2 separate regions of the Homo sapiens genome follow, and region 2 is linked to region 1. The links are contacts of gene promoters, found by promoter capture Hi-C in blood cells and fetal thymus (Javierre and others, 2016). All regions are on one chromosome and are shown on one strand. Each heading gives the region's core, a stretch centred on a gene start or on the middle of the fragment in contact. The rest is flanking DNA. Distances are from core to core; before and after follow the strand shown. Region 1 holds the start of TRIM69 (tripartite motif containing 69). Region 2 overlaps EIF3J (eukaryotic translation initiation factor 3 subunit J).

Evidence for each region. Contacts are between HindIII fragments. The CHiCAGO score rates a contact against its expected background, and 5 or more counts as called.
Region 2: a fragment that was not itself captured here is called in contact with the fragment with the promoter of TRIM69 in region 1 in 5 of 17 cell types (naive CD4 T cells, activated CD4 T cells, naive CD8 T cells and 2 more); the score reaches 7.5 in naive CD4 T cells.

The regions. Positions count from the first base shown.
Region 1 is chr15:44,732,104-44,738,692 of GRCh38, reverse strand. TRIM69 (tripartite motif containing 69) reads right to left here and starts at 2,165. Exons shown (of 7, transcript NM_182985.5): 1 at 1,983-2,165. The coding sequence starts at 1,988. It also overlaps the pseudogene RNF4BP. The HindIII fragment of the contact is 591 bases long and covers 1,995-2,585 here.
Region 2 is chr15:44,541,743-44,548,862 of GRCh38, reverse strand. The region is part of intron 2 of EIF3J (eukaryotic translation initiation factor 3 subunit J); the gene reads right to left. Among named protein-coding and RNA genes, the nearest start is that of EIF3J, 8.2 kb to the right of the region's middle. The HindIII fragment of the contact is 4,378 bases long and covers 2,360-6,737 here.

The DNA.
Region 1 (6,589 bases), core at 916-3,415:
CAAAGCCTATTAACCACTGAGTCAGCAGAGAGCCCATCAATATGTTTTGTGGAATTGAATTTATTAAATGGATCAAATTTGTGAAGCAAAATATCTGCAATAACTTCCTACTGCTCTAGAGGGAGCTATAGAATTGGAAACCAAATGAGAGTCTAAAATTTCTGGACCTGGAAATCTTTTAGGAAACACATCTACTGCCAGCCCCTTTTAGGGGAAGAAGTCTAACCTTAAGGCAGAGAGAGAGAAACTCGAGTCAGGAATTGATATTCATCCTTATAAAGCCCTGGCTGGCAGGAATCACTTTATAAGAAAGCACATCAGCAGGTCACGATGGCCCAGGCCTGTAATCTTAGCCTCACTTTGGGAGGCTGAGGCAGGAGGATCACCTGAGGTCAGGAGTTGGAGACAAGCCTGGGTAACATGGTGAGACCTCATCTCTACTAAAAAAAAAAATAATAATACAAAAATTAGCCAGGCGTGGTGGTGCGTCCCTGCAGTCCCAGCTATTTGGGATGCTGAGGCATGAGAATCACTTGAACCCTGGAAGCGGAGGTTGCAGTGAGCTGAGATGGTGCCACTGCACTCCAGCCTGAGCAAGAGAGTGAGACTCTGTCCTAAAAAAAAAAAAAAAAAAAAAAGAAAGAAAGAAAGTATGTATCTTCCTCCTTCAGTTCACTGTGCACATTCTCAAAGAGCAGAGAAAAGGCAAAGAGCTATGAAGTCCATGGAAGCTTGCATAAGAAATCCTTAATTTTTACCAGAGATTTTTTTTTCCTGAGAAGTTTTGTGTTGTAAATTTTTGAAATCATAGTTAAGATATCTAAGGAGAGTTCATTTGTTGCTTTTCAACCTTTATTCCTTCAAAGTAATTTTTAAACTTTGATGGGCAGTTTTTATGAAGAATTAACTTTGAGAGCAGAAAAATACAGTTCATCCACAGAGACAAACTATATAGCACAGCCAGCTTAAACCTAAGAGCAAGACACACTCCTGCTTCACGAGTCAAGCCATTTGCACATAAGAAGGCAAGATTCTGAACTTTCTGACTTCTTGGAGCTTCCCAGAGTTGAAAGAAATTTTAAGCCATTTAATTCACTCCTTTCCAACCTCTGCCTGAACATCTGAAGTAATGGGAAACTCACTATCACACAAACAATTTTTTTACTATTATGGAAAAGTGTCTATTTTCACTGACTTGGCCTTAAAGTAATAAGAATATAGTAGGTTTAGGCAATAGTGTTTATTTTTGCCCTAGAAATTATAAACAAAATGCTTATAGCCCTGTTTGCTTCAATAGCTAAGCACAGAGATGAGTAGCAGCAAACCTAAAGGTCCTATGATAGAGGAAATTAGAAACTGATCTTAATGATTAATATAATGAAATTAAACTTTATAAGAAGTGGAAACTAGTGGAAATGGATGATAACTCAGGATTCAAGGGCCCCTGAAAAACCCTTAGTGAGTTTTTCAAGCTTTCATGTAGTAAATAACCATTTTCTTTTGTTTGACAATCAGGAAAACACTAAGTTCAGAAGAACATAACTTCCTTTATTTTAGCTCTGAAGAGGTCTTAAAGGAAGAATTCAATTAAAAATGTTTACTATCTAAGTATCAACTCTGCCTTAAATATAAAATAATCAAATGTGAAGGTATTGTAAGCAAACCAAGTTATACATAATAATTTTTAAATCTAAAATAAAATGATTACATTGATAATGAAAGTAAATTGTATATAGTATATAGTTTATTTTTTCTCAAAATGTTTTGGTGGATTTCATTACTTTCCTACCAGCTTCTCTAGTATAAATTATCAGTTATTCCAAGGCTTGGAGAGAGTATAGTAGCTACCAGCTGTCACAAGTTAAATACTTCCCTTCATGAATTTCCTTTTGTGCTCCTAAATCCATATCCTCTTCTATGATCCTGTTTTCCACACTATTCCTAGAAGCCCTGCTAAGTTAAAAAAAAAAAGGGTCACTCACCTCCATGAAGCTTCAGCCCACCAAGGGGCAGAGGCAGGCACTTGAATCAGAGCTCAGCAGGCCCAGGATGGCTGCAGACTGGGAGTCAGGGACCTTTTAGTTTTCAAGGAATGGGCTCAGAGCATGATGGAAGAAAGAAAAGTTCAGGAGCTGGAGAGAAGCAGCAAGGCCAGAGTGAGGTCTGGCAGATTCCGTGACAGTTTGTCAGTTAACTTTGATCATCATTTGCTTAAGAGAAAGAGAAACCCTCATTAGAATACCCTACCTGCCCAACTTTTCTTTTGTAGGAGACAAGGGCAGCTCATTTAGATTCGAGTTAGTGGTCTAATCTTAAGGTTCATAGCTCCCCATTTCTGGACTAAGGATGCTCTATGAAAGAGGAAATACACGTCAGCAGCAGCCTATATTAAGCCTAACTCATGAAAAATAACCACCTCACCCCTGTTCATGATCCCATCACACCATCAAGACACCAGCTGAGTGGCTTTAATAGAGAGCTAGTTCACCTCTCATATTCCAATGAAGCAGCCCTGATTTTATCTCTGAGACAGTAACACAGGCCTGGGAAACACCAGGCCCTAAGAAAGCAGGATGAAAAAAGCTTCATTTCATACAGCTTTCTTCAGCAGTTTTAGCTCGCAGAGAGATGTACCAACACTGTGCTCCTGAGTGACTTATAAAGAGCCACCACAGAGCCAAACAGTTTTTCTTACAGTAGTTCCTCTAACTCAATATGATTTCTTGCACGTCTAGCTCCTGCCTAGCTGTCCAGACTTAATGACCACAGCTCTTTCCCCAGTGTTTGGGATCGCCCAAATATGTCACGCTTCTGCAGCTTTGTATATGTTGTCCCTTCGGATGGGAGTTTCCCTTCCCCCACACCCCCGTCATTATCTCTTTACTAAACTCTTCCCTAACCACCCCCTCATCCCCAAACCAAGCTTTACCCACTTCCCTGTCTCTTGTAGAAGATATTTTGCTGGCTCTATACCAGAGGTTACCAACCTCAGCCCTATTGATATTTTGGGCCTGCTAAGTCTTACGTTAGAGGGGCTGTCCTGTGAATTTTAGGATATTTAGCAGTGTCCCTGGCGTTTACACACTAGATGCCTGTAGCCACCCCCCCCCCACCAAACCCAGTCATAACAAAAATGTCTCCAGTCATTGCCAAATGTCTCCTGGGGGCAGGGGTTGGAATCACTCCCCAGTTGAGAAACACAGCTTTACTCCCTTCCTTCCTTCCTTCCTTCCTTCCTTCCTTCCTTCCTTCTTTCCTTCCTTCCTTCCTTCCTTCCTTCTTTCCTCTTTCTTTTTTTCTTTCTCTTTCTTTCTTTCTCTCTCTTTCTGTTTTCTTTCTCCCTTTCTTTCTCTCTCTGTTTCTTTCTCTTTCTTCCTTTCTTTTTCCTCTTTCTTTCTCTCTTGCTCTCTTTCTTTCTTTCTCCCTTTCTTTCTCTTTCTCTTTCTTTCCTTCTTTTCTTTTCTTTTTTCTTTTCTTTCTGACAGGGTCTCACTATGTTGCCTAGGCTGATCTCAAATTTCTGAGCTCAAGCTGTCCTCCCACCTCAGCCTCACAAAGTGCTAGGATTACAGGTGTGAGCAACACCACGCCTGGCCTAGTTTTACACATTTCTATAGCACCCTAGATCTTTGTACACGTGGCTTTAACAGAGTGTATTCTAATTGTTTGATTGCATGTCTGCCCCTCCACTAAGTTGTGAACAAACCACAGGATAGGTAGTACTGTATCTTGCTCACCTTGGCAATACATGGCATTTGTTAGATCAAAACCTTTGTCAGATAAATGTCTATGAAATGCTGGTGATCACTTAGTCAAAAAAGTAATTTTGTTTCATCTTGATTGTTTTTGTTGTTGGCTAAAACATTTGACAATGCTTAGTATAGCTGATTTTACTAAAGCCAGCGCCTGCACATTTTTGAACCTTTAGCCTAGGGGTAAGAGTACTGGCCTAGAAGATGGAAGCCTTGTCTCTCACCACCAGAGCACTGAATAGCCTTAGCTAAGACATTTAACTCCTATGGGTGTCAGTTCCTCCTTCTTTAAAATGTGAATTCCTAAGACCCCCTTCTGTCTCTAGAAGCCTGTGATTCCAAATCCTATGTAGCAAGAAGTCTCAATCTTCACAAAGAGTACTTCAAGTCTTTTTTTCACTATTTAAAAACAGTGTCCAGGCATGGTGGCTCATGCCTGTAATCTCAGCACTTTGGGGGGCCAAGGTGGGAGGATCACCTGAGCCCAGGAGTTCAAGACCAGCCTGGGCAAGATGGCGAGACCCTGTCCCTACAAAAAATTTAAAAATTAGCCAGGCATGTTGGCACGTGCCTGTGGTGCCAGCTACTCAGGAGGCTGAGGTGGGAGGATCATTTGCGCCCAGGAGGTCGAGGCTGCAGTAAGCCATGATCATATCCCTGCACTCCAGCATGGTTGACAGAGTAAGACCTTGTCTCAAAAAATAAAAATAAAAAATAAAAAAATTCCATTGCTGTAAACGAGACCCAGAGTGATGGTTAATTTTGTATGTCAACCTGACTAATATACCCAGTATAAAAGTTGCTTAAGCAAGAATGAAATTTATTTCTCTCTTAAGTAAAAGTCCAAACTTCTATAGTGGCTCTGGTTTGCAAAGTTGTCAGTCTCCCAAATTCCTTCTCTCTACTTTGTTAACACAGAACTCACAACATCCATAAATTTGGAGAGGAGACTTTATTTCTTATAAAGCGTTAAAGGCCTGCAAGGTGGCCATCCCACAGGCCAGGAAGTACAATCTCTGGCAAAGACCAGAGACAGGCACTTCAAAGGAGGAGCAGGGGTAGGAACTTGATGCTGAATAGGTTGGCTAAACATACATATTCAACAGGTTACAGGAGGAGCTATGAATAATTATGAAGGTCATCCTGACTCATGCTTATTGAACAAACATGCATGTAACATACAACCCATGTTCACTTTGAGGTGGAGACTTAACTCTTTTTGTTGTTGTTATTGTTTGTTTTTTGTTTTTCGCGACGGAGTCTTACTCTGTCACCCAGACTGGAGTGCAGTGGCGCCATCTCAGCTCACTGCAATCTCTGCCTCTGAGGTTCAAATGATTCTCCTTCCTCAGTCTCCCAAGTAGCTGGGATTACAGGCGTGCACCACCACACTCAGCTAATTTTGTATTTTTAGTAGAGACGGGGTTTTGCCATGTTGGCCAGGCTGGTCTCAAACTCCTGACCTCAAGTGATTCACCCACCTCAGCCTCCCAAAGTGCTGGGATTACAGGCGTGAGCCACCACGCCAGGCCTAAGGTGGAGACTTAACACTTAAATGCATAACAATTAGACCCTATAAGTCAAAATGCCTGTTCAGGACAGGAAGGAACAAGGGTGCTTAGCCTCTATAAACTGGCCAGAACCAGCCCATAGTCAGTGGTCTTCTTATCAAGAGAAAGTGGCTGGGTGCGGTGGCTCACGCCTGTAATCCCAGCCCTTTGGGGGGCCGAGGCAGGCAGGTCACAAGGTCAGGAGATGGAGACCATCATGGCTAACACGGTGAAACCCCATCTCTACTAAAAATACAAAAAAATTAGCGGGGCGTGGTGGTGGGTGCCTGTAGTCCCAGCTACTTGGGAGGCTGAGGCAGGAGAATGGCATGAACCCAGAAGACAGAGCTCACAGTGAGCCGAGATCGGGCCACTGCACTGCAGCCTGGGCGACAGAGCAAGACTCTGACTCAAAAAAAAAAAAAAAAAAAAATTGCTTATCTCAGCTGGTGCTTGTTTAGCTGCTAAACAAAAAGAAAAACTGACAGGGCAGAACTCCGTCTCAAAAAATAAATAAATAAATAAATAAATAGAAAATCTTGTGGCAGTTAGAACATAGTTTATTCTTTAAGTGTAGGAGTGCATGACATAACACTTGCCTGGCATGACCTTAGATCTTACGAATAATTTGTTATTGCCACAAAGGGTCTATTCTGTCAGCCTTATGATCTTTATTTTGACATTAATGCTGGTCAGTTGTTGTGTCTAAACCATAAAAGAGACGGAGATATAATGAAGCGTGTCTGACCTCCCATCCCGTCATGGCCAGGAACTCAGTTTTAAGGTTTTTCTGGGGTCACTTTGGTCAAGAGGGGTTCCATTCAGTCAATTAGGGGGCTTAGGATTTTAGTTTACAACTTACTTCACCATCTCTAGGGTGTTGTCTTTATTTATGTGGTCCAGAATGTCCACATGTGGCCAACTAAAAATTGATGACTATAAGAAAGGGAAAGTTGCTTTAAGGACGACCCCAGTATCTGGCACACTCTGGCAACTGAAGTCCAGAGCTGAAGCATAAAACCAAAGGAAACAAAAAGCAGTCTCAGAGCATATGAGAAATCAAAGAGTTTCTTATATACTGCAGATAGCAATTTTAAAAATCAGTATTTTTAAGCTCAGAGCATTGGATGCCAACAACCCATAGTTCCTGCACAAAGACATGGAAAAATCCAGCCACAGGATCTGTCTTGAGCAATAAGGCATACATCATATATAACTGCAGTGATACTGATGGAGGCTGATTTTTTTCAAACAAACTGGGCAGTGTTAGTATGTGTAAAGGAAGTG
Region 2 (7,120 bases), core at 3,299-5,798, 190 kb after region 1:
GTGATGAAATCTCCAATCCAACAGTGTTGAGAAGTAGGGTCTTTTAGAAATGATTAGAGGCAAAGCCCTCATGAATGAATTATTAATACCTTTATATTAGGAGTAGATATCTGATAAAAGGATGAGTTCTGACACCTCCTGCAATCCTTTGTGCTCTTTTGCCCTTCTGCCCCAGGATAATAGAGCAAGAAGGCCCTCGCCAGATGCCAGCACCTTGATACTGGACTTCTCAGCCTCCATAACCATAAGAAATAAATCTGTTGTTTATACAATACCCAGTCTATTGCATTCTATTGCAGCAAAAAACATTTTAAGATACCTTGTGACTTACCATATACTAAATTTTCATATGTACTTGGTCTATTTCTGGGCTTTTGATCCTATCCCACTAGTCTACTGTCTCTCCATATAACGGTACCATACTGGGTTTTTTTGGTCTTGTTTTTTGAGACGGAGTTTCACTCTTGTCGCCCAGGTTGGAGTGCAATGGCGCGATCTCAGCTTACTGCAACCTCTGCCTCCTGGGTTCAAGTGACTCTCCAGCCTCAGCCTCTGGAGTAGCTGGGATTACAGGTGTCCACCATCATGCCGGGCTAATTTTTGTATTTTTAGTAGAGACGGGGTTTCTCCATGTTGACCAGGCTGGTCTCGAACTCCTGACATCAGGTGATCCTCAGCCTCCCAAAGTGCTGGGATTGCAGGCGTGAGCCACCATGCCCAGCCGGTACTGTTTTAATTACAGAGGCTTTACTTTAATGTCAGCTAGAGCTAGTCCTTCCTTGTAGGTTTTCAGATTTTTTAGTGTTTTCTTGGCCTTTCTTGCATGTTTTGTTTTTCCATATGAACCCTCATATCAACTTATCTAACTTCATAAGAAAGCTTCTCCATTAGCAGTTAGGACAACCTAGCTGAAATCAATAGCCTCTCTGAAAGTGATTCAGTTATTAATAAATAAAAACTGAGAGAACTTTATAGTTCTTACTTCCCCCCAAATGTAAAAAGCATCCTATACTCTGGCCAATAGCTCATTTATTTCAAGTAGTATTCCATACAACATAAGCCTGGTTAATGAATTAAGTCTATATAATTCTAAAGCCCACTATTAAAAAGGAGTCAGGCCGGGTGCGTGGCTCATGCCTGTAATCCCAGCACTTTGGGAGGCTGAGGTGGGCGGATCACGAGGTCAGGAGTTTGAGACCAGCCTGGCCAACATAGTGAAACCCTGTCTCTACTAAAAATACAAAAAATTAGCTGGGCGTGGTGGCAGACACCTATAATCCCAACTACTTGGGGGCTGAGGCAGGAGAATCACTTGAACCCAGGAGTGGGAGGTTGCAGTGAGCCAAGATTGTGCCACTGCACTCCAGCCCAGGTGACAGTGCGGCGAGACTTCGTCTCAAAAAAAAAAAAAAAAAAAAAAAAGAATCAAGGCCGGCTTACGCCTGTAATCCCAACACTTTGGGAGGCCAAGGCAGGCAGATCACCTGAGGTCGGGAATGCAAGACCAGCCTGACCAACATGGAGAAACCCCGTCTCTACTAAAAATACAAAATTAGCTGGGTGTGGTGGCACATGCCTGTAATCCCAGCTACTCGGGAGGCTGAGGCAGGAAAATTGCTTGAACCCAGGAGACAGAGGCTGTGGTGAGCCGAGATCGCGCCATTGCACTCCAGCCTGGGCAACAAGAATGAAACTCCGTCTCACAAAAAAAAGTCAACAGCTAATCAAGCCTTCATGGATCCCACTCTCTAACTCAGGGCACTTTAATCCCAGCACTTTGGGAGGCCGAGGCAGGCAGATCACTTGAGACCAGGAGTTCCGAGACCAGCCTGGCCAACATGATGAAACCCCGTTTATACTAAAAAATACAAAAATTAGGTGGGCATGGTGGTGCACGCCCGTAATCCTAGCCACTCAGGATGCTGAGGAACAAGAATCATTTGAGCACAGGAGGCGAAGCTGCAGTGAGCCAGGATCGAGCCACTGCACTCCAGCCTAGGCAACAGAGACTCTGTCTCAAAAAAAAAAAAAAAAAAAAAAAAAAAAGATCTATACTCTGTTTTTTCTATGCCTAACTCAATCATTGAGCTAAATATAAACCAATTATCAAACACAATTTTCTAAAAGCTCCACAGAACTTAGAAGGCTCAAGTTTAATAGGGACAGACACAGCCCTATGATTAAAGATGGCTTTAATCATAGGTAGCCTGGCCATTGTCTCAGCAGCCACCAGGCACACTATGACATGCCATTTGAAGCTGAGTGGCAAGATGGCAAAAGCAGGGCAAGAGGCCCTGATGCTACTAAAGAAGCAAAGGCTGACTAGTATGACTAATATGCCACAATATGACACCAAGCTTCTGGTTTCATAACACGACAGATCACAAATTTGTATCAGTCTAGGAATATAAACTAACCAAGCCTTGGTTCTTAATAAAAATCTCTAAGTCCAGTAAAGAAATTAAAAATTCAACATCCTGATTAAGGCTGTCATACAGTCTGCAAGCATAATTAAAGGAACTTTGTATTAAAAAGTAAGTGTATTTTTATATTCATCTTACTTCAGCAATTTAACCCACAGCTCGCAGTTTTAACAGATTGAAAGCAAACCAGCTAGTCATTATTTGAGTAACTGTGATACTAGAGTTAGAAATTAGAGATCAAACGTTTGTATTTCGCCGTTAGTTTGCTAAGTGCTATACATCACAGTACAAAAGGAACCAAAGAGCTAAAAATAAAAGTGAATTACTAGGCATTTTTTGTTGTTTAAATCTTCACAGAACACAGGAAGGCTGGATCTGTGAGTGATAGGGGGCAGTGTTTCAGATAGGAGGACCATTTGCTTACTTCCAGAAGATGCATATTTAAAACCCTTCTGAGAAACAGGTGTAGTAACAAGGTTAATTCTCACAACAGTCCTGTAAGAAGGTAGTGTTATTCCCCCATTTTAAAGAAAAGGAAACCCAGGCCCAGACATAGCCAACCCACAATCTCAGTGAAAAACTAAGGGACCTGCTCTGAATGGACCAAAGTTCTTTAAAGTGTCATAGGTATAAAGTTACAGTTAGAAGAATAAGTTCTGGTGTTCTATTACACAGTACGGTGATTATAGCTAATAACAATGTTATATATTTCAAGATAGTTCCATAAGAAAATTTTGAATGTTAACACCACAAAGAAATGATAAATGTTTAAAGTGATGAAATGGTAATTACAATGTATACATGCATTGAAACATCACAATATACCCCATAAATATGTACATTATTTGCCAATTATAAAAACTAATTTTAAAAAAGTTTTAAATAACTAAACATTTGACTGACCTTTTTATTGAAAATAAAATGATTTACTTTTTTAAAAAGCATGTTTTAAACACTTGCTTACAAAGTTCACGGTTTAGTAGAGTTCAATTCACTGTAATAAAGCAGCTTACAACACATCTTTAGAGTAACATGCTGAGATACATCCTTTAAATGTATACATGTAAACAGCTTCATTTAAGGCTTTAAACACAATGTTAAGGAAGGTCTTTAAAAAGCATGTTTTAAACACTTGCTTACAAAATTCACAGTCTGGTAAACAATTTAATTCGCTGGAATAAAGCAATTCCAATGCAATTCCAATGCAAAATAATAAAAATAAAAATAGTATTATAGTAAATATGACTTCTTCCCTGAGTCCTGAAGTATAAAATAACTAACTGGGAACTAAGTCCCTCTCCTGGGAACTCTGGGAATCTCATAAAGAGAAGGATTATTACACATATTAAGATATGCCCAGCTAGAGGTATACTGGTTACCAAACTTCTCACCTTAAATTGCCTGTAGTGGTTCTCTACTGATCTTTTTTTTTTTTTTGAGATGGAGTCTCACTGTGTCGCCAGGCTGGAGTGCAGTGGCGCAATCTCAGCTCACTGCAACCTCCGCCTCCTAGGTTCAAGCAATTTTCCTGCCTCAGCCTCCTGAGTAGTTGGGACTACAGGTATGCACCACCATGCCTAGCTAATTTTTGTGTTTTTAGTAGAGACCGGGTTTCACCATGTTGGCCAGGATAATCTTGATCTCTTGACCTCGTGATCCACCCACCTCAGCCTCCCAAAGTGCTGGGATTACAGGCGTGCCTGGCCCCTCCCACCTTTTTTTTTTTTTTTTTTTTTAAATGGAGTTTTGCTCTTATTGCCCAGGCTGGAGTGCAATGGCACGATCTCAGCTCACCGCAACCTCTGCCTCCTGGGTTCAAGCGATTCTCCTGCCTCAGCCTCCCAAGTGGCTGGGATTACAGGCATGTGCTACCACGAACTGGCTAATTTTGTATTTTTAGTAGAGATGGGTTTCTCCATGTTGGTCAGGCTGGTCCTGAACTCCCGACCTCAGGTGATCCACCCACCTCAGCCTCCCAAAGTGTTGGGATTACAGGTGTGAGCCACCACGCCTGGCCAGTTTTCTACTAATTTAAGAAACTGGGCCAGATGAGTTGGCTCACGCCTGTAATCCCAACACTTTGGAAGGCCAAGGTGGGTGGAATACCTGAGTTCAGGAGTTCAAGACCAGCCTGGCCAACATGGCAAACCCCTGTTTCTACTAAAAATACAAAAAAAATTAGCAGGGCGTGGTGGTGTGCACCTGTGGTCCCAGCTACTCGGGAGGCTGATGCCCAAGAATCACTTTGAACCCGGGAGGCAGAGGTTGCAGTGAGCCGAGATCACGCCACTGCACTCCAGCCTGGGTGATAGAGAAGGCCTCCGTCTAAAAAAAAAAAAAAGAAAAGAAAAGAAAAGAAAAAAGAAAAAAACTGGTCTGCAAGCCTCTGGTAGTAAGAGGTCAAGAAGGAAGAAGTATGGCTGAAAATAAGGAGCTCCATCTCAATACCTCCAAGGTAAAGAAACAAACTCAACACAGGAGCATTTTTATTTAATGTTGATGCTCTTCAGTTACCCTTCCCAGAAAAACATAACCCCCACCCCACCCATATCACTGCTCCCTCAGTACATTCACACCAACTCTATGTCCACCTCTATCCCTGTCCCTAGTTTCTCCCATCAAAGCATAAACCTTACCCCAGACACACATCAATGCAGACATAATGAAGCTACCTAGACATTCCCTACTCCATCACAGAATGGATTTTAGTAGCAAAAGAAGTGATTCTGGCCAGGCGTGGTGACTCATGCCTGTAATCCCAGCACTTTGGGAGGCCAAGGCAGGCAGATCACGAGGTCAAGAGATCGAGACCATCCTGGCCAACATGGTGAAACCCCATCTCTACTAAAAATACAAAAATTAGCTGGGTGTGGTGGCGCACACCTGTAGTCCCAGCTACTTGGGAGGCTGAGGCAGGAGAATCGCTTGAACCCAGGAGGCGGAGGTTGCAGTAAGCCGAGACTGCGCCACTGCCCTCCAGCCTGGAGACAGCGAAACTCCATCTCAAAAAAAAAAAAAAAAAGTGGTTCCTATCAACATGTACCAAGAAGAGCCATGACATCTGCTCCTCAATTCATAAAAGGACCATCCAAACCTTGACTGTCACTCTCTCCCCAAAGTGCTTACAAGTCTGCCCTGAAGTTACTACCAAACTAGCACTAAGCCCCTAAAGAAAGGAGCATAGTAAGTGTCAGCAAAAAGAGACTGGTCACACTTCCAAACAGATGTAATTATAAAAGCAAAAGGCCAGGTAGCTTTCCCCAGGAAGTTAGAGTTTTTGTTTCCATAGTTATAAAATTAAGTGTCTGAAAAGTAGATTTAAGGTAGAATGTTCACCACGCTGCTTCAAAAAATATGCCCAATTTTTTGTAAACATTAGAAGTTTGTAAATTCCAGCAGCAAATTCAGATAAAATGTAAAAAGGCTTCCTAGAGAAACAGCTAAAATTAACACTTAAAATAGGGAGCAAGTCTACAACTCACTTCAAAGAGCCCTAAATGGTTATTTGGTTCAAGAGACTACCTATGAACATCCAATTAAATCCTTTACCCAATTATTTTTGGTAGCCAATTAATCTTTCAACTATAATATCCAATTTATCTTCAAAAGAATCACCCAGGCTGCTCTCCTAAAATGGCTAGCTTCTTAGAATAGGGCCTGTTTATAAACTACTTGCTTATCTATACTCTTGCCCTGCAGATACACACCCATCATTTAAGCTATTTCTATGAAAGAGATGGCTGCTTTTTAACTTTAAAACTTGCTTCCCTAATTGAACACAACTAAGTATCAGAAGCAAAGCAGAAAACTTTATATCTTGCTTTCTTTTTATTTCTAACAATGTGGCCAGTAGTTAGCTGGTTCTGTCTTCATAATATAAAACTACATTATGTCACATGCAATGAGAACACATTTAGGGCTGAAAATGCTTTCCAACTTAAGCAAGATGTATTTATAGATTGTCAAATAGAAGTAGCTTCAAACGAGCAATAAAACTCTTTTGCCCTATAGCAACAGCCTAGGAACTAACATATACTCCTTCTCCTTTTTTCTTTAAATAATTTGGTTTAGGTAAAACATAATCTCTTGCTGGGAAAGAAAAAAAAAGCCTTTAATTTGTGTTCTGTAAGCTGTGCAGTTCTGAGAGAACTCAGAACTGTGCAACGAGATCTTGGCAAGGGTAGACTTCCCAGCAAAGTTCAGTTTTTTAAAAGCCAAAATGTTCTTCCACCATCTCAGAACTATGCTGGGTGCCTAGAAGCCAAGGTGCCTGCCTTAGTAAATTCTACTTCATTTAATTCAATTCATTAAGCTTTTAACATACTACAATGGATCAGCACTCAGCTGAGTTCCATCTCAATGCCTACCTGTCTCATATTCAGGACAGTTATCAATCTACTTTAAATTTCTGGCTCAGCGATATCAAGACACTGAACACTAAACAAGTGGTTTATTTACAATGATCCATCATGACAAGAAAATATTTTTCAATAACAAACATGCTTCCTAATTCAAAACTTGCTAGTTTATAAAAGTGGCAGGGTATGAAATGATATGATTGAGATTTTCTTGAAAATAATCTGGTTGGAGGAGGAAAGTGGGGATACAGAGGAGACAAGACTGGTCACTGGTTTATTAAATGTTTCTCTCTACTGCATGTTTGGAATTTTTCTTAAGTTACACATACACACACTCTC